Linked DNA regions of Homo sapiens: all the other regions are linked to region 5. The links are contacts of gene promoters, found by promoter capture Hi-C in blood cells and fetal thymus (Javierre and others, 2016). All regions are on one chromosome and are shown on one strand. The core of a region is centred on a gene start or on the middle of the fragment in contact, and the rest is flanking DNA. Distances in the headings are between cores, read along the strand shown. Region 1 has its middle 38 kb from the start of MIR29B2CHG. Region 2 overlaps TRAF5 (TNF receptor associated factor 5). Region 3 overlaps CD34 (CD34 molecule). Region 4 overlaps NEK2-DT (NEK2 divergent transcript). Region 5 holds the start of UTP25 (UTP25 small subunit processome component). Region 6 overlaps LOC124904504 (a long non-coding RNA gene). Region 7 has its middle 11 kb from the start of SLC30A1.

What was found. The method cuts DNA at HindIII sites, captures the fragments that hold promoters and counts their contacts. A CHiCAGO score of 5 or more calls a contact.
Region 1: a fragment that was not itself captured here is called in contact with the fragment with the promoter of UTP25 in region 5 in 1 of 17 cell types (neutrophils); the score reaches 6.3 in neutrophils.
Region 2: a fragment that was not itself captured here is called in contact with the fragment with the promoter of UTP25 in region 5 in 1 of 17 cell types (non-activated CD4 T cells); the score reaches 5.5 in non-activated CD4 T cells.
Region 3: a fragment that was not itself captured here is called in contact with the fragment with the promoter of UTP25 in region 5 in 1 of 17 cell types (neutrophils); the score reaches 6.8 in neutrophils.
Region 4: a contact is called between a fragment that was not itself captured here and the fragment with the promoter of UTP25 in region 5, in 4 of 17 cell types (fetal thymus, total B cells, activated CD4 T cells and 1 more). The highest score is 8.0, in fetal thymus.
Region 6: a contact is called between a fragment that was not itself captured here and the fragment with the promoter of UTP25 in region 5, in 8 of 17 cell types (non-activated CD4 T cells, total B cells, fetal thymus and 5 more). The highest score is 11.2, in non-activated CD4 T cells.
Region 7: a contact is called between a fragment that was not itself captured here and the fragment with the promoter of UTP25 in region 5, in 1 of 17 cell types (fetal thymus). The highest score is 5.1, in fetal thymus.

The regions. Positions count from the first base shown.
Region 1 is chr1:207,859,332-207,862,805 of GRCh38, reverse strand. No RefSeq gene overlaps it. Among named protein-coding and RNA genes, the nearest start is that of MIR29B2CHG, 38 kb to the right of the region's middle. The HindIII fragment of the contact is 8,351 bases long and covers 1-3,474 here.
Region 2 is chr1:211,361,097-211,364,519 of GRCh38, reverse strand. TRAF5 (TNF receptor associated factor 5) reads right to left here. Exons shown (of 11, transcript NM_001033910.3): 7 at 3,358-3,423. Among named protein-coding and RNA genes, the nearest start is that of LINC00467, 20 kb to the left of the region's middle. The HindIII fragment of the contact is 5,726 bases long and covers 1-3,423 here.
Region 3 is chr1:207,878,301-207,881,916 of GRCh38, reverse strand. It overlaps CD34 (CD34 molecule), which reads left to right. Exons shown (of 8, transcript NM_001025109.2): 8 at 1-945. Among named protein-coding and RNA genes, the nearest start is that of CD34, 31 kb to the left of the region's middle. The HindIII fragment of the contact is 1,562 bases long and covers 1,365-2,926 here.
Region 4 is chr1:211,679,304-211,683,025 of GRCh38, reverse strand. The region is part of intron 2 of NEK2-DT (NEK2 divergent transcript); the gene reads right to left. Among named protein-coding and RNA genes, the nearest start is that of NEK2-DT, 5.4 kb to the right of the region's middle. The HindIII fragment of the contact is 4,776 bases long and covers 83-3,722 here.
Region 5 is chr1:209,826,143-209,830,051 of GRCh38, reverse strand. It overlaps UTP25 (UTP25 small subunit processome component), which reads right to left and starts at 2,080. Exons shown (of 12, transcript NM_014388.7): 1 at 1,882-2,080. The coding sequence starts at 1,988. RefSeq lists an enhancer at 1,991-2,040. The HindIII fragment of the contact is 3,327 bases long and covers 1-3,161 here.
Region 6 is chr1:211,378,572-211,382,285 of GRCh38, reverse strand. LOC124904504 (a long non-coding RNA gene) reads left to right here. Exons shown (of 2, transcript XR_007066868.1): 2 at 1-3,714. Among named protein-coding and RNA genes, the nearest start is that of LINC00467, 2.3 kb to the left of the region's middle. The HindIII fragment of the contact is 246 bases long and covers 1,351-1,596 here.
Region 7 is chr1:211,566,706-211,570,600 of GRCh38, reverse strand. No RefSeq gene overlaps it. Among named protein-coding and RNA genes, the nearest start is that of SLC30A1, 11 kb to the left of the region's middle. The HindIII fragment of the contact is 4,611 bases long and covers 1-3,893 here.

The DNA.
Region 1 (3,474 bases), core at 419-2,918, 2.0 Mb after region 5:
CCCAGTTTTTCGACTTGTAATCAACACATGGCTTTTCTCATTTCTTTTATACCTTCACCCACCTTTTTCTTACTCCCTTCTTGGATTATTTTACAGCAAGACCTAGATCCTGTATTATTTTATCTATAAATACTTTTTAATATATCTCTAAATGATAATACCTTTTAAAAACTTAACCCTAGTGGTATTATTACACCTTGAAAAAGCACAGTCATCCCTAAATATCTCCTGTCATCCAAATATCCAAATGGTGTTTAACTTTCCTTCGATGTCTCAATTTCTTTCTTTCTTTCTTTTTTTTTTTTTTTTTTGAAAACAGCCAGTTGGTTTGAGTCAGGCTCCAAACAAGATCCTCATGTTTCATTTAGTTGATGACAAATCTTCAAGGCTCTGTTAATAAAGATTATGGTCATTCTTAAAAGAATTTATGTTTTGCAATTCTACCTTTTAGATTTACTTAGCTACCCACGATTCTTCCCAGTCAGCTGCCATCAACAGCTTCCTGAGTTTTGTTAGATGATTTTTATGATTTTGAGCATTTTTTCATGATCCCTCTTGCCTTTATGGTTTAATGTAGCTAGTCATTTTTCCCTTCCTTCAGTAGATGTTTCTTGGGAGCCTGCTCTGTTTCAGGAGCTGTACTGGACACTGGGCCTACACCTGTGAAAAGGACAGACAGGGCCCAACTCCTGGAGCTTACAGTTTGACCACAGGAGAGCTGCTGCTTGGCAGTTTTCCCCGTGCGTTCACCCCAGCTGAGCAGTGTGACCACAACCGTCACTTCTGTGCAGGCAGACCTGCCACGTTTTTATAGCTTGGTGTTCATGCTCTCATGCTGTCATTTTATGTGGTTGACAAAGGTGCGCCTAGAATGTTCAAGAAGCCAGGCATGGCTTCTGTGGCAGGCCTGTGTCTCATAGCCACACGACCCGGCATTCTAACTGTGGTGCTGCTTGGGCCTTGTGTGTATCCATGTAACACTTTTGGGCTTGAGTGTGGATAGCTCTGAAAGTTAAAATGGAGAGCTTCCTGAATTGGTGGATTGTGGAGAGGCTAAATGAACACGTTTAAAGAGGGGGGCTCTGAATTGTTACAGGGCTTGGCAAAAGCCAAGTGTTGCTAATATGTTTGAGCAAATTGGATGTTTCTGTGGCTTTGTGGACTTCAGGTTGGTTTGGGGCTTTTGCCTGTTCCAGTTAGGCTACCTGCCAGCCTTTCAGATGACAGGCCCACTTTCTTGATTTGCTGTTCGTTGTGTATTGGTTAGCCAGTCTGCCTCAGTAGCTAAATATGATGATACAATTCAGGCCTGTCTTGCTGATAAAACTTTTAACTGATTTACATTTCTTTATGTAAGTAAATAATCAGACTCTGACTCCTGTGATGCTCTGATTTTGAGAATGGTCCATGATTCTTCTTATATTTTTGCATTTTCAGTTCAAATGCAACTGTATTGTAGTTACTGGATTATAGTGTCTGAGCCTTTAAAAAAATCTTAGTTAATAAAAGTATATTTTCAGATATAAAACCTAGTATCCTTATGATACATATCTCCTTGTCACTGAAGGCATGTTCAGCCTCTGATGATATGTTTTGTTTTCTTTCAGTTAAGTGGTCTTTAATCGTTTTGATTGTGTGCCCATATCAGTTAAAACTTTTGAGCAATTCCCCTTGTTTGTGTGTGTATTTATAATTTATAAAAAGTAGTGCTGTGCTAAAATACATTATAGTATTATAAAACACAAAACAAAAGACTTCAAATGGCTAGGATATATTGTATTCCCTACCTTCTTCCTAAATGAACTCTTCATGGTTCTGTCCGAGGGCAGCCTTCTACTTTGCCCTAAATTTCAGTTACTCTCACATATTCGACATTGCCCCAGCCTGTCCCCTCCTCCTTGCATCACCACTTTTTCCCCCTGCTCGATCGTTTCCAAAGGCTTTCTCATCTTCAAAAAGTCTTCTTTGGTCACCTCTCCCAGCTACTGCCCCATCATCTGTCCCTCCATATTTTCAGTCCTTGCTGTGTTCACATCCTCTCTTGACTCACACCACTCTGATGAAAGTGCTCCTGGCAAGGTCCATGGTAACTCCCATGATCCTGACTCTAGTGGTCACTTCTTCATCTTCCTCACAGGAGCTCTTCAGTTTGGCACCGCTGATCATACCCTTTTCCTTGACGCTGTTTCTTCACTTGGCTTCCAGGGTGTGTATTTCTGGCTTTCCATCTGCCTAATTGGCCATTCCTTCTCGGCTTCTCATCTCCCTGACCTCTAAACATTAAAGGCCCTGGGCACCTCCTCTCTATCTTCTCTCATTCTGTCTGTGATCCTCTCCTGTTGTATGGCTTTTAATACCATCTATATGAGTGATCTCCAGAGTTTGCTTCAGTGTAATCCTGGGAGATCAATAAGATTGACCATGAGCTGATCATTGTTGAAGCTGGGTGATGGGTACCTGGGGGTTTATTATACGGTTCTCTCTCATTTTACTTATGTTAGAAATTGTCTTTCTTTTTTTTTTTTTTTTTTTTTTTTTGAGGAGTCTCGTTCTGTCGCCCAGGCTGGAGTGCGGTGGCACAATCTTGGTTCACTGCAGGCTCCGCCTCCCGGGTTCACGCCATTCTCCTGCCTCAGCCTCCCGAGTAGCTGGGACTACAGGTGCCTGCCACCACGCCCAGCTAATTTTTTTGTATTTTTAATAGAGACGGAGTTTCACCGTGTTAGCCAGGATGGTCTCGATCTCCTGACCTCGTGATCCACCCACCTTGGCCTCCCAGAGTGCTGGGATTACAGGCGTGAGCCACCGCGCCCAGCCCAGAAATTTTCTATAATGGAAAGTTAAAAAGTCTATATGCTGTTGACCCTTAATCATTTGTCTGCAGCCCAAACTCTCTTCTGAACTGTAGACCTGTGTCTCCATCTGCCTGTTTAGTATTTCAGCTTTGATATTAACAGATATTTCACTAAACGTGTCCAAAATGGAACTCCTGGTTTCCCTCCCCAATATGTTCTTCCTGCAGTCTCCCCATCCCATTTATGGGAATGCTGTTCTTCCAGTTGCTTATCGAAAACACCTCTGGTCATGCTTGATTTCCCTCTTTCTCATCTGTCCTTCATCCAGTTCATCAGTAAGTCTTGTTGACTCTACCTGTAAAATATATCCAAAATTTCATCTATCAGAACTACTTCCGCTGCCACCACCTTGGTCCAAGCCACCATCCTCTCTCATCTGCTTCTTTATTGCCCCTTAGAGGCTGTAGTCCTCCCCGCAGCGAAAACAATCCGTGAAATGTTAAGTCACATCATGCTCTGCTGTGCCCAAACCCTGCAGTGGCTTTTCTTCTCTCTCAGTAAAAGCAATCACCCTTACTGTGGTCCATAAGACCTCATAGCTTATCTCATCACTGCCCAATAGAAATATAATGTAAGCTACACATGAGGGTCACGTAGGTAATTTAAAAGTTTTTGATAA
Region 2 (3,423 bases), core at 174-2,673, 1.5 Mb before region 5:
GAGACGGGGGTTTCACCATATTGCTCAGGCTGGTCTCGAACTCCTGACCTCATGATCTACCTGCCTTGGCCTCCCAAAGTGCTGGGATTACAGGCATGAGCCACAGCGCCTGGCCTCTTCAAATCAGTTTTAAGTCAACGCTAGTTCTTCCTCCTGTCAAGCACATTTCCATGCTGCCTCCAATCACGGACTGGCTGCCATGGGCAGGAGGAATGCCACCTGATTTTAATTTCAGCCCATACAAATTTGTTGCCCTCAAAACCATAGACTACATTTGCAAGAAGAAATGGTTGCTTTTTCCCTAATCATTAAAATATTTTTTTTTGTAGACTGCCTATATTACAGTAAAAGCAAATGTTTGTTAGGTGTTCAAGGTGATCCATGCAGTTTAACTAAATATTTATCATCAATTTTCATTCGGGTTAGGGTTGGCTTCTTTGGTGACAGGCTGTCCTAAATAAGGTTCCGGAGAATAACTCCCCCAGCCATCCCAAGCTCTGGTGCTGAGGCAAGTTCTAGAATACAAACCAACTGGAGATTTGGGCCTGACTGTAAAGATCATTTTTAGAGCTAGAAAGCAATTCTGCTTTTTTTTTTTTTTTTTTTTTTGAGACAGGGTCTCACTCTGTTGCCCAGGCTGGAGTACAATGGCATGACCTTGGCTCACTGCAATCTCTGCCTCCCTGGCTCAAGGGATTCTCCCACCTCAGCCTCCCAAGGAGCTGGGACTACAGGGTGCGCCACCACACCTGGCTGATTTTTGTATTTTTTGGTAGAGACAGGGTTTCAATATGTTGCCCAAGCTGGACAATTGTGCTCATGCACAAGAAAGGTAAACCCTATTCTTTTTGCAGCCAAGACAACCTCTGGTTTGATATGTGACAAATTTATAGACTCTTCGCTGATTTTTTTTTAAATCCTTCTCAGAATATACATTTTTTCAAATGGTTTTTAAAATAAAAGAAATATGTGCTTATGTCAAACAACATAAGATGAAGAATAAAAAGTAAAAGGCCTCTTCTGTCCATCTCCACACCCACTTTCCTAGTTTTACCAGAGTGTCAGTAAGGATATACACATTTTTAACACAAATGAGAACATACTATATTTAATTTTTTACATATATCTCATTTTTATCAGCTACATAGTATTCTAAAATATGAATACATAATTATATAGTTGGTGTTTTAATGATAGACTTACAGGTTGTTTTTAGCTTTGGGTTGTGGGGTTTTTTTGCTATACAAACAATAGTAGAATAAACATCTTTGTGTGTCTTTGTGTATGTGAAATCACTGTATAACTTAAGAAAGGATATCTGTAACATAAATCCTAGCAGAAATGCAGGGTCAATGTGTGGATTCATTTTTTATTTTCATAGAGATAACCAAATTGCCCTAAAAAAAGTGAGATATCATAAGATGTTTTAATCTTTGTCAATTTGATGATATTAAAGTATATTTCTTGTTATAATGTATATTTATTTAGGAGTGAAACTGAGCATCTTTTCTTACATTTATCAGCCAAATGAATTTTTTTCTGGAACTGCCCATATACTATATTTCTTTGCCTATTTTTCCATTAAGTTGAGTAGGTTATTAACATGTAAGGTTTCTTTGTATATTAAGGAAAATAGCCCCCCCCTTTTTTTTGTCTGATCATATGTTGCAAACTTTTCCCTCCAGTTCACTGTTTGCTATTTGACTTTATGGTATTTTTTAAAATCATACAGAAGTTTTAAATATTTACAAATTTATCAAAATTATGGCTTCTGGTTTTGTGTTAGTCATTTAAGAAAGGGCTTTTGTTGTTGTTGGGGGGGTTTTTTCGTTTGTTTATTTTGAGACAGTCTCACTCTATTGCCCAGGCTGGAGTGCAGTGGCGCGACCTTGGCTCACTGCAACCTTGGCCTCCCGGGTTCAAGGGATTCTCATACCTCAGCCTCCCAAGTAGCTGGGATTACAGGCGTGCACCACCACACCCAGCTAACTTTTGTATTTTTAGTAGAGGCGGGGTTTCACCATGTTGGCCAGGCTGCTCTCGAACTCCTGACTTCAAATGATCCACCCACCTCAGCCTCCCAAAATGCTGGGATTACAGGCATAAGCCATCGCACCAGCCTCTTTAAGAATAAAAAAATTCACTCATTTTTCCTTCTAGTATTTTCATGATTTCTGAAGTTAACTTCTTATTTTGGAATAATTTTAGATTTACAGAAAATACAGAATAATACAGAGCATGACATATTTTAATGCCTAAAACTTTGCTCCACCTGGAATCTATTAAAAAGACTGAAGTAGAAATCAAATTTTATTTTTATTTTGTGTAATTCATTATTATTTTAAAGTATTTAAAAGGTAATAACATACATATTAAAACACGATTTTAAGTCCATTTTGTTTCAGTATACTTGGTGATATACAAGAGTATATCACCATAAAACCAGGATTTGTAATCATGAGAGGAGTAACCCCAGAAGGTTCCCAAACCAGGTGGAGGCAATGGAATCAAAATTAGAAATAATTACTGTGGGCCAGGCACGGTGCTGTAATCCCAGCACTTTGGGAGGCCGAGGCAGGCGCATCGCCTGAGGTCTGAAGTTCAAGACCAGCCTGGCCAACATGGTGAAACCCTGTCTCTACTAAAAATACAAAAATTAGCCAGGCATGATGGCGGGTGCCTGAAATCCCAGCTACTCAGGAGGCCGAGGCAGGAGAATTGCTTGAACCCAGGATGCAGAGGTTGCATTGAGCCGAGATCATGCCACTGCACTCCAGCCTGTGACAGAGCAAGACTCTGTCTCAAAAAAAAAAAAAAAAAAAAAAAACCCGAATAATTATTGTGATGGTTAATTTTATGTGTCAACCTGGCTAGGCTATGGTGCCCAATTGTTTGCTCAAAACAAGTCTATATGTTGCTGTGAAGGTATTTTGCAGATGTGATGAAAACAATTGGTAGACTTGAAGTAAGCAGATTACCCTCCATAGTGTGGTGGGCCTCATCCAATCATTTGAAGGCCTTCAGAGCAAACACTAAGGTTTCCTGAAGAAAAAAATGCTTCTCCTCAAGACTGCAGCATAGAAACTCCAGCCAGAGTTTCCAGATTGCTGAGCTGCCCTGCAGATTTTGGACTTGCTAGCCCCCACAACTGCAAGAGCCAACTTCTTAAAATAAATCTCTCTATATATGTATATATCCCATTGGTTCTGTTTCTCTGGAGAACTCTAAAATAATTAGCCTTAAATTTCTCAGAACTGTATGTCTTTCTCCATCCTCGATGGAACAGAGAGTAAACTGAACTTGCCAAGTGAATTATACAGTAGAATGTATAGGCAGAAACAAAAAGTCATTCCATACCGTTACAGCACAGCCATAGTGCTTAAAAGGACAGTCTTGCTCAGCTTCAGGACATACAGCCAGGTG
Region 3 (3,616 bases), core at 896-3,395, 1.9 Mb after region 5:
TGAAAGTTACATCTATCAATTATTACTGTTTCAAAAATTAAAATTGAGAAAATTTTATTTATTAATTTGTTTAAAAATAACAATAATTATTCAATTACATGATAATGTAAGTAATGCTTTTCTTAATGAAAAATAATTATATTTTCCAAAACAAAAACAATTAGGAAAAAGAGTGTCATTGTTTTAGACTTTGGTAAATCTCTCTAATATCTGGCTGAAGAGAAGAATGCTGATTCTTTTTTTTTTTTTTTTTTTTTGAGACGGAGTCTCGCTCTGTCACCCAGGCTGGAGTGTAGTGGTGTGATCTCGGCTCACTGCAAGCTCTGCCTCCCGGGTTCACGCCATTCTCCTGCCTCAGCCTCCCAAGTAGCTGGGACTACAGGCACCCGCCACCACGCCCGGCTAATTTTTTTGTATTTTTAGTAGAGATGGGGTTTCACCGTGTTAGCCAGGCTGGTCTCGATCTCCTGACCTCATGATCCACCCACCTCAGCCTCCCAAAGCGCTGGGATTACAGGTGTGAGACACCGCGCCCAGCCCCCGAATGCTGATTCTTTTATCTGCTTCTGTATTCAATCTGTTGTGATATGATGGGTAGCCTCTGAAACACTCCACTGTATACTTGTGAAAGAATGAATGTGAAAAAGGAAAATAGATTTGTAGTATTATTATTCAAATTGTTTTGACCTCAGAGACCACTTGGAAATGTTTTAGGGAACCCCCAGAGGACCTTGGATCATGCTTTGAGAACCGCGGCTCTAGATATGTTACTATTTCAGTAGCATCTAAGTACATGTGGCTGCTGAGCACTTGTAATGTGGCTAGTGCAAATGAGAGACAGGACTTCCAGCTATATGTAATTTAATAAACTCAAATTTAAAAACTGGAACCTCATAAAATGTTTTGTTGTTGTTGTTAAACATGACCTTATAGTTTTGGTAGGAATACATTTCACTTTAACCCTTCAAAATTTAGCATTTGAATTGAGATATGCTGTATATGTTAAATACATGACAGATTTTGGGGACTTAGAAAAAAATAATGTAAGATATTTCATTAATAGTTTTTATATTGAGTATTTTTTGCTATGATAATATTTTTGATATATTGGGTTAAATAAAATGTATTTTAAAATTAATTTAAGCTATATTTATTAAAATCTTTAGAATGTGGATAATAGAACATTTAAAATGACATACGTGGTTCACATTTTATTTCTCCTGGAGTGTACTGCTGTAGATGAATTTAGATGATGAAGGCTTTGTGTGTCATGTAAAGCTTATTCTTTATTTTGAAGGTAATGTAGAGCCATTGAAAAGTCTGAAGTAGAGAAGTGACATATCAGATTTGCATTTTAGAAAGCTTACTCTGGCTTCAGTGTGGAGCATGGACTGAAGAAGGAACCAGTTAGGGTTAGGAGGTGATTGCATTATTGAAGGGTAGGAAGACTGTGGCCTGAAGAAAAGTGGCTAAACCAGAGACATATGGCTGGGCGCAGTGGCACACGCCTGTAATCCCAGCACTCTGGGAGGCTGAGGCAGGTGGATCACTTGAGGTCAGGAGTTCGAGAGCAGCCTGGCCAAAATGGTGAAACCCTGCCTCTACTAAAAATACAAAAGTAGCCGGGCATGGTGGCGCCTGCCTGTAATCCCAGCTAATCAGGAGGCTGAGGCACAAGAATCACTTGAACCCGGGAGGTAAAGATTGCAGTGAGCCGAGATCATGCCACTGCACTCCAGTCTGGGCAACAGAGTGAGACTCTGTCTCAAAAAAATAATAAACAAACAAACAAACAAATAAATAAATAAATTGGAGACCATAGTGGAAAGATGAAATCAACTGGATTTGGTTCTTAGGTGTAATAATGGCATTTTGGTTATGTAAGAGAATGTTCTTATTTCTAAGAGATGCACACAGGAATCTTTAGGGATGAAGGGCCATAATGTCTGTAATTTACTTTCAAATGTCCATCATATTCATACACACATACACAGTATATCTGTGAGATAATAAGAGTGAAAAGGTAAATAGCATCTTAGTAGTATTATGAAAAAAATATATATGGAGAGAGGGAAAGGGGAGAAAAAGCAAATATGAGACAAAATATTAGCAATTTTGAATCTACATGAAAGCAATCTAGTAAATGATGAATCATTTTAGTCTTCTTCCAGCCCTTTCTGTAGGTTTGACAATTTTCAAAATAAAAAGATGGGGAAAAAATGAAAAGAAAAAAAAAACTTTAAAAAGTCTTGGTAATCACTGATTAGATATGAGAGAAAGGGAGTGACTTTCTGGTTCCTTGCCTGGCAACAGAGTAGACAGCACTGTCCTTCCCAAGAGGGAAGTGCAAGAGGAGAAATCGAATTGGAGGGATGATGAGTTCGTTATGGAGTGTGTGGACTTTGAGGTGCTCTGGGCTCCAACAGGCAACGTGCAACCCTGAAGTTTTTGAGAGGGAAATGTGGTAAAGATGCAGACATGGGTGTCTTTAGAATCTAGATGGTAATGGAAGGTACTGGGGGACCCTGGAGTATCAAGGGCATGTGTGGAGAATGAGAAGAGATGAGGTGTGAGGATGAAATCCTGGCGGACACTGACATTTCAGGGTCAGCAAAGAAGGATATTGGAGTAGACAACTTCCAAGGTGGCCCATGACACCACCTCTTCACAGGCAGGCTTTTGTGTAGTCAGCCCCTCTCACACTGTATCAGTGTTGGCCTGTCAGACAAGAGGGGTGGAAGTGATGGCATGTCACTCCTGAGATTACATCATAAAAGACATTGTGGCTTTCATCTAGGCTTGCTACATGCTCATTCTTGTGGATCCCTTGTTCTGGGGGAAGCCATCTATCATGTCATGGTAGGCTACAGGGAGTTCCATGTGGGGAAGAACTGAAACCTCCTCCCAACAGCCATGTGAGGAAGCTTGGAAAACCTTAGAAGAGTATCCTTTAAAAAAAAGTTTTAAATTAAACACAAATAAATACATAAACAGTACAACTGCAATCTCATGAGACATCCCAAGCGAGACAACTCAGGTAAGCCATTCCACCCAGCTAAATTGCTCCAGATTGCTGACCCTAAGAAACTGCGTGAGGCCAGGTATGGTGGCTCATGCTGTAAACCCAACCCTTTAGGAGGCTGAGGTGGGAGGATTGCTTGAGGCCAGGAGTTTGAGACCAGCCTAGGCAAATAATGAGAACCCCTGTCTCCACAACAAATTAAAAAATTAGCCAGGCATGATGGCACGTGCCTGTAGTGCCAGCTACACAGGAGGTGAGGCAGAAGGATTGCTTGAGCCCAGAAGGTTGAGGCTGCAGTGAGCTGTGTTTGTGCCACTGCGCTCCAGCCTGGGCAACAGGGCAAGATTTTGTCAGAAAAAAAAAAAAATCAAGAAACTGTGTGAGAGAATCCATGTTTTTTTTTTATTATTATTATACTTTCAGTTTTAGGGTACACGTGCACAATGTGCAGGTTAGTTACATATGTATGCATGTGCCATGCTGGTGTGCTGCACCCAGTAACTTGTCATTTAGCATTAGGTATATCTCCTAATGCTATCCCTCCCCCCTCCCCCCACCCCACAACAGTCCCCAAAGTGTGATGTTCCCCTTCCT
Region 4 (3,722 bases), core at 1,221-3,720, 1.9 Mb before region 5:
GTATTCCTATGCCCTGCATTCACTCTTTACCAGAGAAGTCTTTCTACAGCACACATCTAGTAGTGCTCGTCTGCTCAAAGCTTCCACTGTGAGTCCATCACCTTCAGTAGACTTCCTCAACTCTTGGGTCTTCCTGCTCACCTGTCCATCCACCTGTCTTACAGGTAACGAACCACAGGTACCCTTTGGTCCACCAACCCAACCTGCAGCTCACAGCAGGCCTCCATGCTTTTACCCACAGTTTCCCTTCTCCTAATTCCAACTGCTCCTTTAGATGGGATTCAAGTGTCACCTCCCCAGGAACATTTGCCCTGACCCCCATGCCCTGCCATCTTTATCAGAATCTGGGTCCTCCTCTTTGCATTTTAGGCAAAGCTCTTTCAGAGCAATTATCATACTACATAGAGAGAGCTGATTTACACAGCAGTTCCAGTGAAGTTTTGGTGAGAGGGGATGGAATCACAACATTTAGAGCAGGAAGGGTTCAACAACTTCATTTTACAGAGCCCAGAGAAGGGATGTTGAAAAGCTAATGCAGACATAGCTACTTAACAAAAATTGTCATTCGGGGTCAGACCAATGACTAAACAGCCCAGTGTTCCAGTGAGGTGAAATGGATTCCCTCGGTCACATAACTCATTAAGACAGAACTAGGCCAGACACGGTGACTCACGCCTGTAATCCTAGCACTTTGGGAGGCCAAGGCAGGAGGATCACCTGAGGTCAGGAGTTCAAGATCAGTCTTGCCAACATGGTGAAACCCCACCTCTACTAAAAATACAAAAATTAGCCGGGCATGGTGGCGGGTAACTGTAATCCCAGCTACTCGGGAGACTGAAGCAGGAGGATTGCTTGAACCCAGAAGACGGAGGCTGCAGTGAGCCAAGATGGCACCCCTGCACTCCAGCCTGGGTGACAGAGTGAGCAAACAAACCAACAAACACACAAAGAAGACAGAACTAGAAGAGCCTGGGAACCTGGAGCTCAAGCTCACTGCTCCTACCATCACTGTGCTGCCCCCGATGGAAAAGGTAGGCGTGTCCTCTAAAACCTCCTAAGTCCCTTAGAAACACATTATGGTCCTGTGCAAGGTGGTTCAGGCTGCTATAATAAAATACTTTAGACTGGGTAATTTATGAATAACAGAAACTTATCGCTTGCAGTTCTGGAGGCTGGAAAGTCCAAGGTCAACGTGCCAGCAGATTCAGTGTCTGATGAGAGCCCGTTTCTCATAGATGGCATGCTCTATGTGTCCTCACATCATGGTAGGGCAAACACATGGCAAACAAACTCCCTGGGGCCTTTTGTATTAATATAAGGGCACTAATCACTCCCCCAGAGGCTCCACCTCTTAATACCATTACCTTGGGGGTTAGGTTTCAACATACGAATTTAGGGAGGTCACAAGCATTCAGACTCTAGCAGGCCTCACCGTCCATAATTAGTTTTAACATTTGTCTTATCACATTTAGGTGATGAATATTCTTAGAGATAACAAATATCCTGAATTTACAAGTAACAGGAAAAAACATGGAAAATTATGAATGTCTGTCTTTGTCTGAAAGTTTATCCTTATATTGAAAAGAAATGTTTTTCCCTAATTTGTACCCTTGGGTATAAATTCAAAACTATTGCCTTTTAAAATGTGATGGAGCTCTTAACTAAACACTGTTTGGTTTCAAAGATAACTTTCTTCTCATCATATCCTCCAGCTGCCTGCCATTTAGCTGAAGCTGTCTCTCAGTCTACATCTTGTCCTGTTTATCTCACGTGGTATGTGGCTGTTAAGAACAGTCTGCCTAACACCTCATTCTTTGTTCTAGAACGTGGTTATTTGTTGAGCATATAGTATGTCATGCATCTTTTTTTTAAAAGCATCTCTTAGCTTCTGATTGTTATAAACAAAGAATCTCTCCTTTTTTCTTTCTAGAAATCTTTTTTAATCACTCGAAAGAATTGCCATAATCCCTGACTTCAAATTGCTTCAAGTAATTGTGGAGATAAGACTTATACACAAATGTCTTGTCTGATTTTAAATTCTACACATGCAAATCTGGGGATTTCCTGTAGGGACAGGCGGAGTAGTGCTGCCGCGCAGGCGCCAGCTCCTCGTTTATTATGCAGTGATGTACAGCCCTCTAGTGGGTCTTTAATGCAACATAAAAAAACGAAGCTGAGGGCAATGAAATATGGCTTTGTTCATTCATCCATTCATTTGATGTACAAGTGCTGGGTTCCTGCTTTGTTCCAGGCACATTTTAGGTGCTGGGAATACTGCAGTAAATCAAACAAACAGCAACAAAATCAGATACATTAGTTACTGGAGACTAAGAAGATGGAGAGGAGAACAAATTTGGGATGAAGATCAGGAACTTGATTTTTGGCACATTAAGTCTGGGATGCTCATTAATCTTCAAGTAGCTTCTTTTAAACATTAATTAGGTGCCGGATGCAGTGGCTCACACCTGTAATCCCAGTACTTTGGGAGGCCGAGGCGGGTGGTTCACTTGAGGTCAGGAGTTTGAGACCAGCCTGGTCAATATGGTGAAACCCTGTCTCTACTAAAAATACAAAAATTAGCCAGGCATGGTGGCCTGCACCTATAGTGCCAACTACTCGGGAGGCTGAGGCAGGAGAATCTGTTGAACTCGCGAGGCGGAGGTTGCAGTGAGCCGAGATGGCGCCACTGCACTCCAGCCTGGGTGACAGAGTGAGACTCTATCACAAAAAAAAAAAAAAAAAAAGAAAAAGAAAATTAAAATTAAAATTAATCAGGCCAGGCGTGGTGGCTCACGCCTGAAATCTCAGCATTTTGGGAGGCTGAGAGGCTTGAGCCCGGGAGTTCAAGATAAGCCTAGGCAACTTAGTGAGACCTCATCCCTACAAAAAGTTAAAACAATTGGCTAGGCATGGTGATGTGCACCGGTGATCCCAGCTAACTCAGGAGGCTGAAGTGGGAGGATTGCTTTAAGCCCAGGAGGTTGAGACTGCAGTGAGCTGTGATCGTGCCACTGCACTCCAGCCTGGGCCATAGAGTGATACCCTGTCTCAAAAAATAATAATAATAGCAATCAGTGTCTCTATGGACATGTACAGAGTGCCTGTGGGAGAAAATGCAAGTGCAAATACTCTCTTATTTGAGATTTCACCAAATTTAAATGAAAACTGACAACATGAGCACAGTTAGCAAGAAAAGTGTGAAGACAGTGAATTAGACCATGGGTGTGGGGAGAGTGGTTATCGAGAAGTTCAAGGGTTGGCCCCACTCTTATAGAGTTGCTCATCTTCTTTCTCTGTTTAAATGGAATCATCTCAGTTCTTCGTTTGTTTTCTTCTTAATTCTTGCCACAATTTGTCACAGTGGAGTTTCTCTGTGTACTTAGGTTACATCCATCTCTTCCACCTACAGGACTATATGTCTGTCCTATTCACTGTGGTATCCTCAGCATCTGGCACCTGACTCAGCCTCTATTTATACTTGTTGGAGGATGAATTTTCCATTTAATAAGGCAGAGAAGATACATGCACATGAGAAGCTAGTAATATGGCCTAGTATAATTCTAAATGAGTAAAAACACAGTTGATTACTCTTAAGAGTAATTAGAAGATAGATCATAGTGGGTTGAAGTCAATCAGGAAAAATTTCAGAGAAGAAATTGGGCATGAGCTGAGACTTAAAGAATGGATGGAATATGAAGGAAAAAGGAAAGAAGTTATAGGGG
Region 5 (3,909 bases), core at 831-3,330:
AGGTCAAATGAGATGTTAAATGAAAAAGGCAGAATATAACATTATAAATACATTTTAGATATAGTCATGCAAAAATTACACATGCACTTGGGCAGGGCTGGCAAGAATATGGTTAATAACTGACAAATGAAAAGTTTAAGGAGGTCACATGACAAACCCTAGAGTCACACAAGGCTCTCATCCAAAAGAAGGATACAACTTGGCTAAATAAAAGATTTCGGGGTTCATGTTTTTCTAGCAAATTTCTTAATTAGAATGTCCCTCTAAGCTGGGAGCGGTGGCTCATATCTGGAATCCCAGCACTTTAGGAGGCCAAGGTGGGAGAATCACTTGAGCCCAGGAGTTTGAGACCAACCTGGGTAACATACGGAGACCCTGTCTCTACAAAAAAATAAGAAAAATTAGCCCGGAGTTGTGTTGTGCACCTGTAGTCTCGGCTACTGGGAAGGCTGAGGCAGGAGGACCGCTTGAGCCCAGGAGGTGGTGGCTGCAGTGAGCCAGGATTGCAGCACTGGATTCCAACCTGGGCAACGAAGTGAGACCCTGCCTCAAAAAAAAGAAAAAAGAAAAGAAAAGAAAAAAAGAATGTCCCTAACTGATGACAAAGCAGCCCAAAGTAGTGGGATGAGCATTGAGATCATAACTGCACCTAGACATTTCTAGAGAAACCACAACTACTAATACACTTAGTTCCTTATCGTAATTGCAAAGATCAATGATGTCCCAACAAATTCTTTAAAAACACACACAACATATGATGTGACTATAACTAACAATTTATTGTATATTTTCAAATGGCTAGAAGAGCGGATTTTCAATGTTCCCAACGCAAAGAATTGATGTTTGAGATGATGAATATGCTAATTACCCGGATTTGATCATTACACATTGGGTACATGTATTGTTATCAAAATATCACACTGTATCCCACAAATATGTACAATCATTTTATGTAAGTTAAAAATAATTATAAAAACAGGCCAAGCGCGGTGGTTCACGCCTGTAATTCCAGCACTTTGGGAGGCCAAGGCGGGCAGATCACCCGAGGTCAGTAGTTCGAGACCACCCTAGCTAACATGGTGAAACCCCGTCTCAACTAAAAATACAAAAAATTGATCGGGTGTGATGGCGGGCGCCTGTAATCCCAGCTACACGGGAAGCTGAGGCAGGAGAATCGCTTAAGCCCGGGAGACGGAGGTTGCAGTGAGCTGAGATCGCGCCACTGCACTCCAGCCTGGGCGACAAAGCGAGACTCTGTCTTAAAAAAAAAAAATTATATATATACATATATATATGTGTGTCTACAAAAAATTCCTAGATCTCTGACCACACAAAAATCCGCCCCCATAGCTGGGCGCGGTGGCTCACGCCTGTAATCCCAGCACTTTGGGAGGCCGAGGTGGGTGGATCACCTGAGGTCAGGAGTTCAAGACCAGCCTGGCCAACATGGTGAAACCCCATCTCTACTAAAAATACAAAAAATCAGCCGGGCTTGGTGGCGGGCGCCTGTAATCCCAGCTACACGGGAGGCTGAGGCAGGAGCATCGCTTGAACCCGGGAGGAGACAGAGGTTGCAGTGAGCCAAGATCGCGCCATTGCACTCCAGCCTGGGCGACAGAGCGAAACACCGTCTTAAAAAAAAAAAAAAAATCCTCCCCCACACAACGGGCGTGCCTCTTAGCAGGAAATTACAGGCTCAACAAAAAGGCCCGTGAAGCACTCCATCTCCCGGCGGGATGGCGCCAGAATCTCCCCGGCCGAGCACAGCGGGAGCCAGGGAATAGTGGGAAAAGGCCGGAGCAGCACTATCTGGGAGACCAGAGGACCAAACTCGAGGATACATCTCTGGCGACTGGGGAGCCCTGCCACGCCCCTTCAGACCTGTCATAGAAGGGATGCTCCTCGCCGAAATCTCGAAGATGTTTCTTCTGCTTTTTAGTTAGGGTGTTGAGTAGCTGGCTCTGGCTCCGGCTCCCGCGTTTGCCCATAGCGAAAACGTCAAGTTTGCCCACTTGCAAGAGTCGCGGTTTTCCACCAGGAAGTTGTCCAGTCAACACAAGCACGTGGGCTCGCTGACTGCGCTTTACGGCGAAAGCAAGGTGCCATAAAGCAGATCCGCTTTACGTCGCGCTCGTACGACAGGCTTAGAACATCCGGTTCCCGGTTCTGCCCCCTACCGCAGCTCTTTGAAAGCACGGGAGTTCGTTCACTAGTGTTCTCAGAGCCCTAGAACGTGGGCAGCTGGGCTTCCCGGGTTGCGTGAGTCGGGGGCATGAGCTTTGTGCTTGTGTTTTGGTTATGGAAATCAGTCTGCGTAAATGTGTAGTAGCGGAGATAGTCGAATGCAGTGACTTTACAGTATACTGCAATAAAAATATCAACCAACATTTAAGGGTGCCTGAACATCTCACTTCATCACCACAACAGTGTACAGATAGGTCTTGTTAATAAGCCTGGTGTTGCAGATAAGGAAACTGATGCTTAGAAAAGATAACACGCTAGCGGCCGGGCGCGGTGGCTCACGCCTGTAATCTCAACACTTTGGGAGGCCGAGATGGGCGGATCACCTGAGGTCAGGAGTTCGAGACCAGCATGGCCAAACATGGTGAAACCCCGTCTCTACTAAAAGTACAAAAATCAGCCGGGCGTGGTAGCGGGCGCCTGTAATCCCAGCTACTCAGGAGGTGAGGCAGGAGAATCGCTGGAACCCGGGAGGTGGAGGTTGCAATGAGCCGAGATCACTCCACTGCACTCCAGCCTACTCCAGCCTGGGCGACAAAAGCTAGACTCCATCTCGAAAAAAAAAAAAAAGAAGAAAAGAAAAGAAAAGATAACACGCTAGCAAGAGAAGAGAGAAAAACCTTAACTGATGCAACCACATGCTTTTACCCATTAGGGTCTGCCGCCTGTGTGTGTTATATCAATCATGGGGCCCACAAGTCTGAGATTCCCACCCTCACCCTATTCTCGCATTTTCTGAAAGTATTGGAAGAGTCCCCGCAAACAAATCTGTTCCAGCATTCCCCATTTAACAACAGCAGAAACACATCTAGAGAGGTAAAGTGACTTTACTGAAATCACCCCAGTCAATGCTAGAAAAGGCTGTGAAACCCAATCCAGTGTCTCATAACTGAACTCGGACAAAAGGGGATGGAAAAGCTTTTGAAGGTAAAGGAACCATCTTACATTTTGATCATGCTAGTAGTTACACCTTGTATACATAAGAAAAGTTAAACTGTACAGTTAAAATGGGTGAATTTTAATGTATTTAAATAACACCTAAATAAACAGGAAAAAGCAAAAATATAAAAGTAGACTCAGTATTCTAGGGATTTGCAAGTGTGCAGGGCTGCTTGAGACCACAGGATAAAGATGGTGAGATCCTTTTCCTAATAGTAACTTATGCTACCATGTTCTATAGAAACAGAGTGCTTAAATCATAAGCCGCAGAATTCACTTGAATATTTACGGTAAAACAGGAGCGTCCAAAATGAGAGAAATGAGAAGCAAAATAATAGCTCTGCTATTGGAGTGCTACTGTGGGAAATTTGGGTTTTCCCTGATACTGTGTCACACCATAGAAGTTGTAATAAAACCATTAGAATGCGATTCTTGTCAGTTCTAGTGACCATCTACTATTCCTAATTAGATTCGGAGAGGCTGGGGTGGGGATGGGAGGACAGGGCCGGAGAATATGAGGAACACATGCAAACAGAGCGGGTGGTGCCCAGCAGCTGGGCCAGCCAAGGAACCCATAAATAGCCATTTGTCTTCTATGTAATTTCAAGATAAAAGGTACAGTCACTTAGGTCAACAAAAGCCTGTTTGCAAGATGTCATCATATATTTTAAGGTGCTGACCACAGTATAACTTGGCTATAGCAATAAAGAGCCATCCTTTTTCCCCCTC
Region 6 (3,714 bases), core at 224-2,723, 1.6 Mb before region 5:
TAAGAATGGCTTTTGATTGTTGATCTATCTGGACACTTCACTAAACGTTCGTATTCTAAAAATTTGACAGGCAGTCCTCTTTGATTTGTAGGTAAGAATTTATCTGTAAAGAACAATTTTGGCTTTTCCCAAGAATCCAGTGCAACACTGAATAGTAGCCGGAGGTACTTATTTCTTACCAGGAGTTATTTTGGATTGCATCTTAGGTTTCATTCAAGATATCTTCTGCAGGTTTATGGTGTGTGTGTGTGTGGGTGTATAGGCAAATTATGTTCTTTTCGTAGTTTACCATATCGGTTTTTTTTTTAATCAGCAAATGACTAAGTTTTACCAAGTATTTTCAGTATCAGTCTTTGAGATGATTGTATGGCCTTTTTTCCATTACTCTACAATAAAATAACTACAATAATAGATTTTCTAATGGTGAGCCAAACTTAGAATCCTGGTATCTTATTTTTTCAATATATTGCTGGATGCAATTTGCTGTGTAGTTAATTTTGGATTTTCATGTATGCACCTAAGTTAGATTGGCTTATGGTTTTCTTTTGCTGTCCTTGTCTAGTTTTGGTATCAGGTTGTGCTAGGAGTCAGACAGGTTAACTTATTTTTGTATGACCTGGAATAGACATAGCATGTGTGAATGATACATTTCTTAGGTTTTGAAGAACTCATCTTTAAAGCCTTCTGGGTGTGGTGCCATCTTAATGGATAGTTTTGTTTTTTATATAGCGTCCATCGTTATTGATACCTAGAATTTTTTCTTTTGCTTCTTGAGAAAATTAGTTTTTTCTAGAAAAGTATTGGCCGGGTGCGGTGACTCACGCCTGTGATCCCAGCACATTGGGAGGCCGAGGAGGGCGGATCACGAGGTCAGGAGATCGAGACCATCCTGGCTAACACGGTGAAACTCCGTCTCTACTAAAAATACGACAATGAAAAATTAGCCGGGCATGGTGGCGGGCGCCTGTAGTCCCAGCTACTCAGGAGGCTGAAGCAGGAGAATGGCTTGAACCCGGGAGGCGGAGCTTGCAGTGAGCTGAGATTTTGCTACTGCACTCCAGCCTGGGGGACAGAGCGAGACTCCATCTTTAAAAAAAAAGTATTTCAGCTATATTTTCTAACATTTAAAAAAATCTCATATTGTTCTCAACCATTCTTATATATTCTTATATATATATTCTTATATATTGTATTGGAGTCTTTTTCTTGATCATATTTATCAAACCAGCTTTTGGTTTTATAGATAAAATCTGTCTTAAAAGTAATTTCTCTTTCATTAATGTATGCCTTCATTAATTTCTTCTTATCTCTTTGGGTTTATTTTGTTCTTTTTATAGAATCTTGGAAGCTTAACTTTCCTTTAAAATGTTTAATATGAAATATTACCAGAATGTACAGTTACAGAAAATAATATAATGAACACTTGTATACCAACCATCTAGCTTTATCCCATTTTAACATTTTCTCTTATTTGCTTCAGATTTTAACATTCAGTTAGAGCTCCTTGTGAAACTGCCTGCAATCTCATTCTCCCTCTCTTCCTCTCTGAAATTAACTACTTCATTGAATTTGGTATCTGTCATTCCCATGAAAGCTTTTATGTATGCTCCAAATACATGTAGCGATGTTAAGTAGCATAAAGTACTGTTTTATGCTTTTTAAACCTAATATAAATGATATGCATGTCACTTACTTTTGCCACCTATAATTATGTATGTAAAATTTATCCAGGATGATTCCTGTAGTTCTAGTTTTATTTTAACTGCTGAATAGTATTCCATTGTATAATTGTACCACCATTTATCCATTCTCCAGTTGCTAGCAATTTCATGATTCCTGATTTCTGTCATTATAACATGAGTTAGTTCTTGCACACAGCTTCTTAGACATATGGTAAGAATTTCCTTAGGATAATGTCTAGAAATGGAATTGCAAGGTGGAAGGGTTTGCACAGTTCAACTTTGATATTGCCAAATTGTTCTCCAGTGGTTGTACTAACTTACCCTCCATCAGCAATGTAGGAGAGCTGCTGTTGCTCCATTCCATGCCAACACAGGTTATTTTTTTGCCCCAGTTTTTTTGTTTTGTTGTTTGGTTTTTTTTTTGCTGTTACCAACTGCTGACAGTAAATTTTCTTGTACATGTTTCCTGGTACACGTGTGCAAGAGTTTCTCTGACTATAAAGCTAATGCAGTTATTAACTCTATTTTGTTTTCGGTATGTTTTTTAAAAGCATGTACATGTCCCCCTCATTTGAGATTTCTCCCTGTTAATACTAACACTTAACTTATTCATAGATATATCTCACTCATTTTTTTCTATGTATCATGCTTCCTGTTCTCTTTACTGCCTTTGGTTTGACAGTCTTTTTTTCCAGTTTTTTTCCCGCTTTAGTGGTTTGAAAGTTATATTTGATTTTTATTCTATGAATAGTAGTTACTCTTCTAACTCATTTAAAGGTGTATCTTTATATATATGTGTGTGTGTGTGTTTAGAATTCATCAGTATCCATATGAGGCAGTCTGTGTAGTGGTTAAGAGTGGAGCCTGTGAGGCCAGACTGCCTGGATTCAGATCCTAGCACTACCACTTATTAGCTGAGTAACCTAGAGCTTATTACATAAACTCTCTGTGCCTCAGTTGTTTCATCTGTAAAGTGGGGATAATACAGCATATACCTCATGAGGTTGTTCTAAGATTAATATGTTAATATATGTAACATTCTTAGGACAGTGCCTAATGCTTGGATCTCTTTACCAGATTTTTCATCTATGGAATGGGCAGAAGACTTGCCTATCAGAGTTGTTACAAAAATTCAGTGCATTAGTGTATTCATTCATTTTAATACACTGAGCACCTGCTGTGCACTTTTGAATTAGACATGGTTCTCGGCTTCAGTGGTCTCATAAGGGAACAGACATGAAATGCAATTTCAATACGATTTAACCTTAATACTCTTCCCATGTTCTCTCTTGTCCCCCTTCTAATCTGTGCTCCACATTAAGAGGCAAAACATTAATCAGATCATGCATCCTCTGCCCATCATATGTTAACTTTCATTATACTTTACATAAACCATAAACTTCTCACCATGGCCTGAGCCCTCAGGTTCTAAACCCTGTGCCTCCCTCTCTAACCTCATCAACTATCATTCTCCTGATTTCTACCAAATTCCCACCACACTATCCTCTTCTCAGTTCCTTGAGCCAACACTCTTCAGTGCCCTCTGCTCAGATTACTGATCCACCCTGACAGCTCTTCCCACGACTGACTCATCTTTCAGATCTCAGCTTGATTAGGTCAGGCAGTTAGTTACAAGCAACGGAATCCACTCTGGTTGAGAAAGAAAAGGACTTTTAAAAAATCATGTAGCTCACAGAATCTCTAGGAGAGCCAGAGGCCAAATATGGAAACAACGGTACCCAAACACACTAGACGATCTAGTGAGAATCCATTGCTGCTGCCACCATTGACACCAAAACTGCAACTTCCACAAACACTGGCGGTCCCCACTGGTAGCCAGAGTTAGGCATGTTTCCTTCTTCATCTTGCTCACTTTTTTTTTTTTTTTTTTTTGGAGATGGAGTCTCACTCTGTCACCCAGGCTGGAGTGCAGTGGCATGATCTCAGCTCACTGCAACCTCTGCCTCCCAGGTTCAAGCAATTCTCCTGCCTCAGCCTCCCGAGTAGCTGGGACTACAGGTGCCCGCCACCA
Region 7 (3,895 bases), core at 339-2,838, 1.7 Mb before region 5:
CCAGCTACTCAGGAGGCTGAGGTGGGAGGATCACTAGAGCTGGGGAGATGGAGTTTGCAGTGATCCGAGATAGTGCCACTGTACTCCAACCTGGGTGACAGAGCCCAACCCAGTCTCAAAAAAAAAAAAAGGTTAAAAAGTTAAGGGGTTGAGAGGTATAAAGAGATTATAAAGGTTAAAAGTGCCATGACAACTAGTTTAAATTTGGTTTCATAGGAAAGGACGACACTACCAATTTCACTATCAATAATTTTTTGAGTAGATAAATAAGAAAGTGGGAAAGGTACTCTACATATTTGGAATGACATGTAGGCAAAGTGAGACAGGAAGACAAATCAGTTTACCAGATAATTCAATGCTAAAAGTCAAATACACATGTCCACATGTACATATACTACATTTCAATTGATTCCACACACACATTCTTCTTATATTTTAGCATTTCTGAAATCAGAATGCATAGTACAATCAGTGGTATCTTATGATTGCCATTGGCCAAACTTTTTTCTTATCTCGATGTGTCTATTGTTCAGGGTTCAGAAAACAATTATCTTCCCAGGCAATATGGTCTTTCAAAAGATTATATGACAATATTCCCTGAAATTTCATGTACTATGCATTGCACATTTAGATGAAAGCTGTTCCTTGAATTGGATAAAAATAATTTAAAAAGTCAAGTAACATTGCTTTTAAATAAATTTCATAGACAATTCTGAGCCTTCAGAATTGACCATCATTTTCCCCCCCACTACTCTATTCAGCCTTTTTTGTTGTTGAGTTTTGCTCTGTCGACCTGCTGGACTGCAGTGGCGCCATCTCAGCTCACTGCAACCTCCGCCTCCTGGGTTCAAGGGATTCTCCTGCCTCAGCCTCCCAAGTAGCTGGACTACAGGTTCGCGCCACTACGCCCAGCTAATTTTTTGTATTTTTAGTAGAGACAGGGTTTCACCATGTTGCCCAGGCTGGTCTCGAACTCCTGAGCTCAGATGATCCACCCCCTACAGCCTCCCAAAGTGCTAGGATTTCAGGCGTGAGCCACCACACCCAGCTCAGCCTTTTTTCTTTTAAAACAAGTAATTTGTGGCACTTTGTTCTTATTTTAAAACCAGTTTCACTTCTAGATTATAAACTCTATTCGGTCAAGACTATGTCTTTTCCATATTTATTTCCTAAGGATATAGCACAGGGACCAGCACATTGCAGGTATTTAAAGTTGTCTGGAATATTTAGGAATGGCAGGAATGGAAAAAGATATACAGTAGTTACACTATTAATAGATAAGATACACTGAGTACTAACTTTTTTTTTAATTTTTATTTTTTTTGAGAGAGGGTCTGACTCTGTCGCCCAGGGTGGAGTGCAGTGGCGGGATCTTGGCTCACTGCAATCTCTGCCTCCTGGGTGCAAGCGATCCTCCCACCTCAGTCTCCTGAGTAGCTGGGACTACAGGTACCCGCCAACATGCCTGGCTAATTTTAGTATTTTTTTTTTTTTTATAGAGATGAGGTTTCGCAAATATACTGGGCACTTCTGATCACTTATTACTGAGCACTTACTACATATCAGGGCACATATGCTTTCATGTATCCTTACAACCCATTAGGTGTATTCCTTTATTCCCTTTATTTTACAGACAAACAGATATTAAAGCACCTTACCCCAAGTCATATAGTCAGTGATGGAGCCAGAACTGGAACTCAGCAAAAGATCTAGTCCTCTGCAAGTCACTTGCATTCCCACAACTTTGGACTTTTCAACAACCCACTTAAGTAAATTCAGAATGAAGAGTTCTTTCTAATTTTCATCCAATGAGCAGCAATAGACAAAGCATAGGCACTGAGTACTAGCAAAGGAGGGGCATTAAAAGAAATAAGAAAAGTAATTTTTATACAAAAGTGAGCCGGGCATGGTGGTAGGCACCTGTAATCCCAACTACTCAGGAGGCTGAGGCAAGAGGATCCCTTGAACTGGGAGGTGGAGGTTTCAGTGAGCTGAGATTGTGCCACCGCACTCCAGCCTGGGTGACAGAGCAAGACTTTGTCTAATAAATCAATAAGTACATAAAATAATTTTCAGAGCATTTAATATTTATTAAAAAAAACAACAAAATAGTCAGAAATCAGAACTTTCTTACCTAAATTAGACCTTCTTAAATTATGGTTTAGTACCATTTATTTTTAATTACATAAGGGAGAGAAATTCCAATTTTTTAAAGGATTTAGGGCCTCTCTTGGTTTTAATCCAGCCTTGTGGACAAGTACCATTCTTTACAAACTAGTACTGTTTTCACATAATATTGTCTGGCTGGCTTAAATATCTTTAGGGTTACACTGAAAACAGTGCATCTTTGGGGGGCAGAGGTGATTGAGGTAAATGTGGATGAGGAGTCAAAGGGAGAAGACCATCCACTTTTCAACAGGGGTGCTGTTAGCATTTGCGTGAGACCATTCATCAGTGCAGAAATGTCCCATGCATTGAGTTTAACAACTCTGGCTTACTTCCACATGAATGCCTGTAGCTATCGTTTTTCCCTCCCCATTATCAAGACACCCCAACTGTTTCAAATGTGTCCTAGAGAGGCAGTATTGCCATGCCAGAAACCATAGATGGCTAACCCAGCGGGTCCTCTTTCAGTGTCTCCCACAGGAACCAGACACTACATCTAGTCCCCTCTTTTTACATAGATATTTGTGTTTTGTATGAACATCAGTTCCATCTTTAAGTCCAGGAACTGTGATTCCATGCCTTGATAGTCAAATTGAAACTCTGAAGTTTTGACTTCTGAGGTTCATAACCTTTGATACAATGATCACTATAGCACAAGGTAGCCAGGAACTCCTCTGATCTGTTAGGAAGATTGTTCTGCCCAAGAAAACAGTGCAGGTATGGCCTTCTGAATTGGCCATGGAAACCCTGGGTTAGCTCTATTGAAATATAAAGTAAAAATGGGTTTCTGGCTTTATAAAAGAGGTTCAAAACCAGGGCCTTCTATTAAAATACAAATTTAAATATTTGCATCAAAACTTAGGGCCAGACGCGGTGGCTCATGCCCATAATCCTAGCACTTTGGGAAGCAAAGGCAGGTGGATCACTTGAGCCCTGAAGTTTGAGACTGGCCTGGGCTCTTCTTTCTTCTCTTTACGTTTTCTCTTTTTGTCCCAGTTAGAGTCTCCCGAGGAACAAAGCTCTTCTGATGCCTGTGTTTATTCCATAGACTCATTTTGGACTTACGATCTCCAGCACTTTAAAATAATAAATTTGTCCTGTTTTAAGCCACTAAAGTTGTGGTAATTTGTTTCAACAGCAATAAGAAACTGATATACATATATTCTAGCTTAAACACTAAATTTTTATATTATTATTACGATGATTTCTCTCTTTTAGAGTTCAATTGTAAATGGTGGTATAACAGTTTTCTTTTGTTGTTGTTGTTGTTGTTTTTTGAGACAGGGTCTCAATCTGTAGCCCAGGCAGGAGTGCACACTGGTGCGATCTCCTCTCACTGCAGCCTCACCTCCCGGGTTCAAGCGATTCTCCCACCTCTAGTCTCCTGACTAGCTGGGACCACAGGCATGCACCACCATGCATGGCTAATTTTTATATTTTTTTGGTAGAGATGGGGTTTCACCATATTGCCCAGGCTGGTCTTGAACTCCTGATCTCAAATGGTCCTCCTGCCTCAGCATCCCAAAGTGCTGGGATTACAGGCAGGAGCCACTGCTCTGGTGGTATAACATTTTGTTTAATGCTTATGCAACAGTTTATGTTGCATAAGTAAGTTCATGAAACATTGATTTGTGGTTTTAAGGTAGGAAGGAGAGGTTAAGGTTAAATAGTGAAATACAACAAGCAATTTTCTTTATACGTGTGGTCGTGTGGTGAGATACCAAGCTTA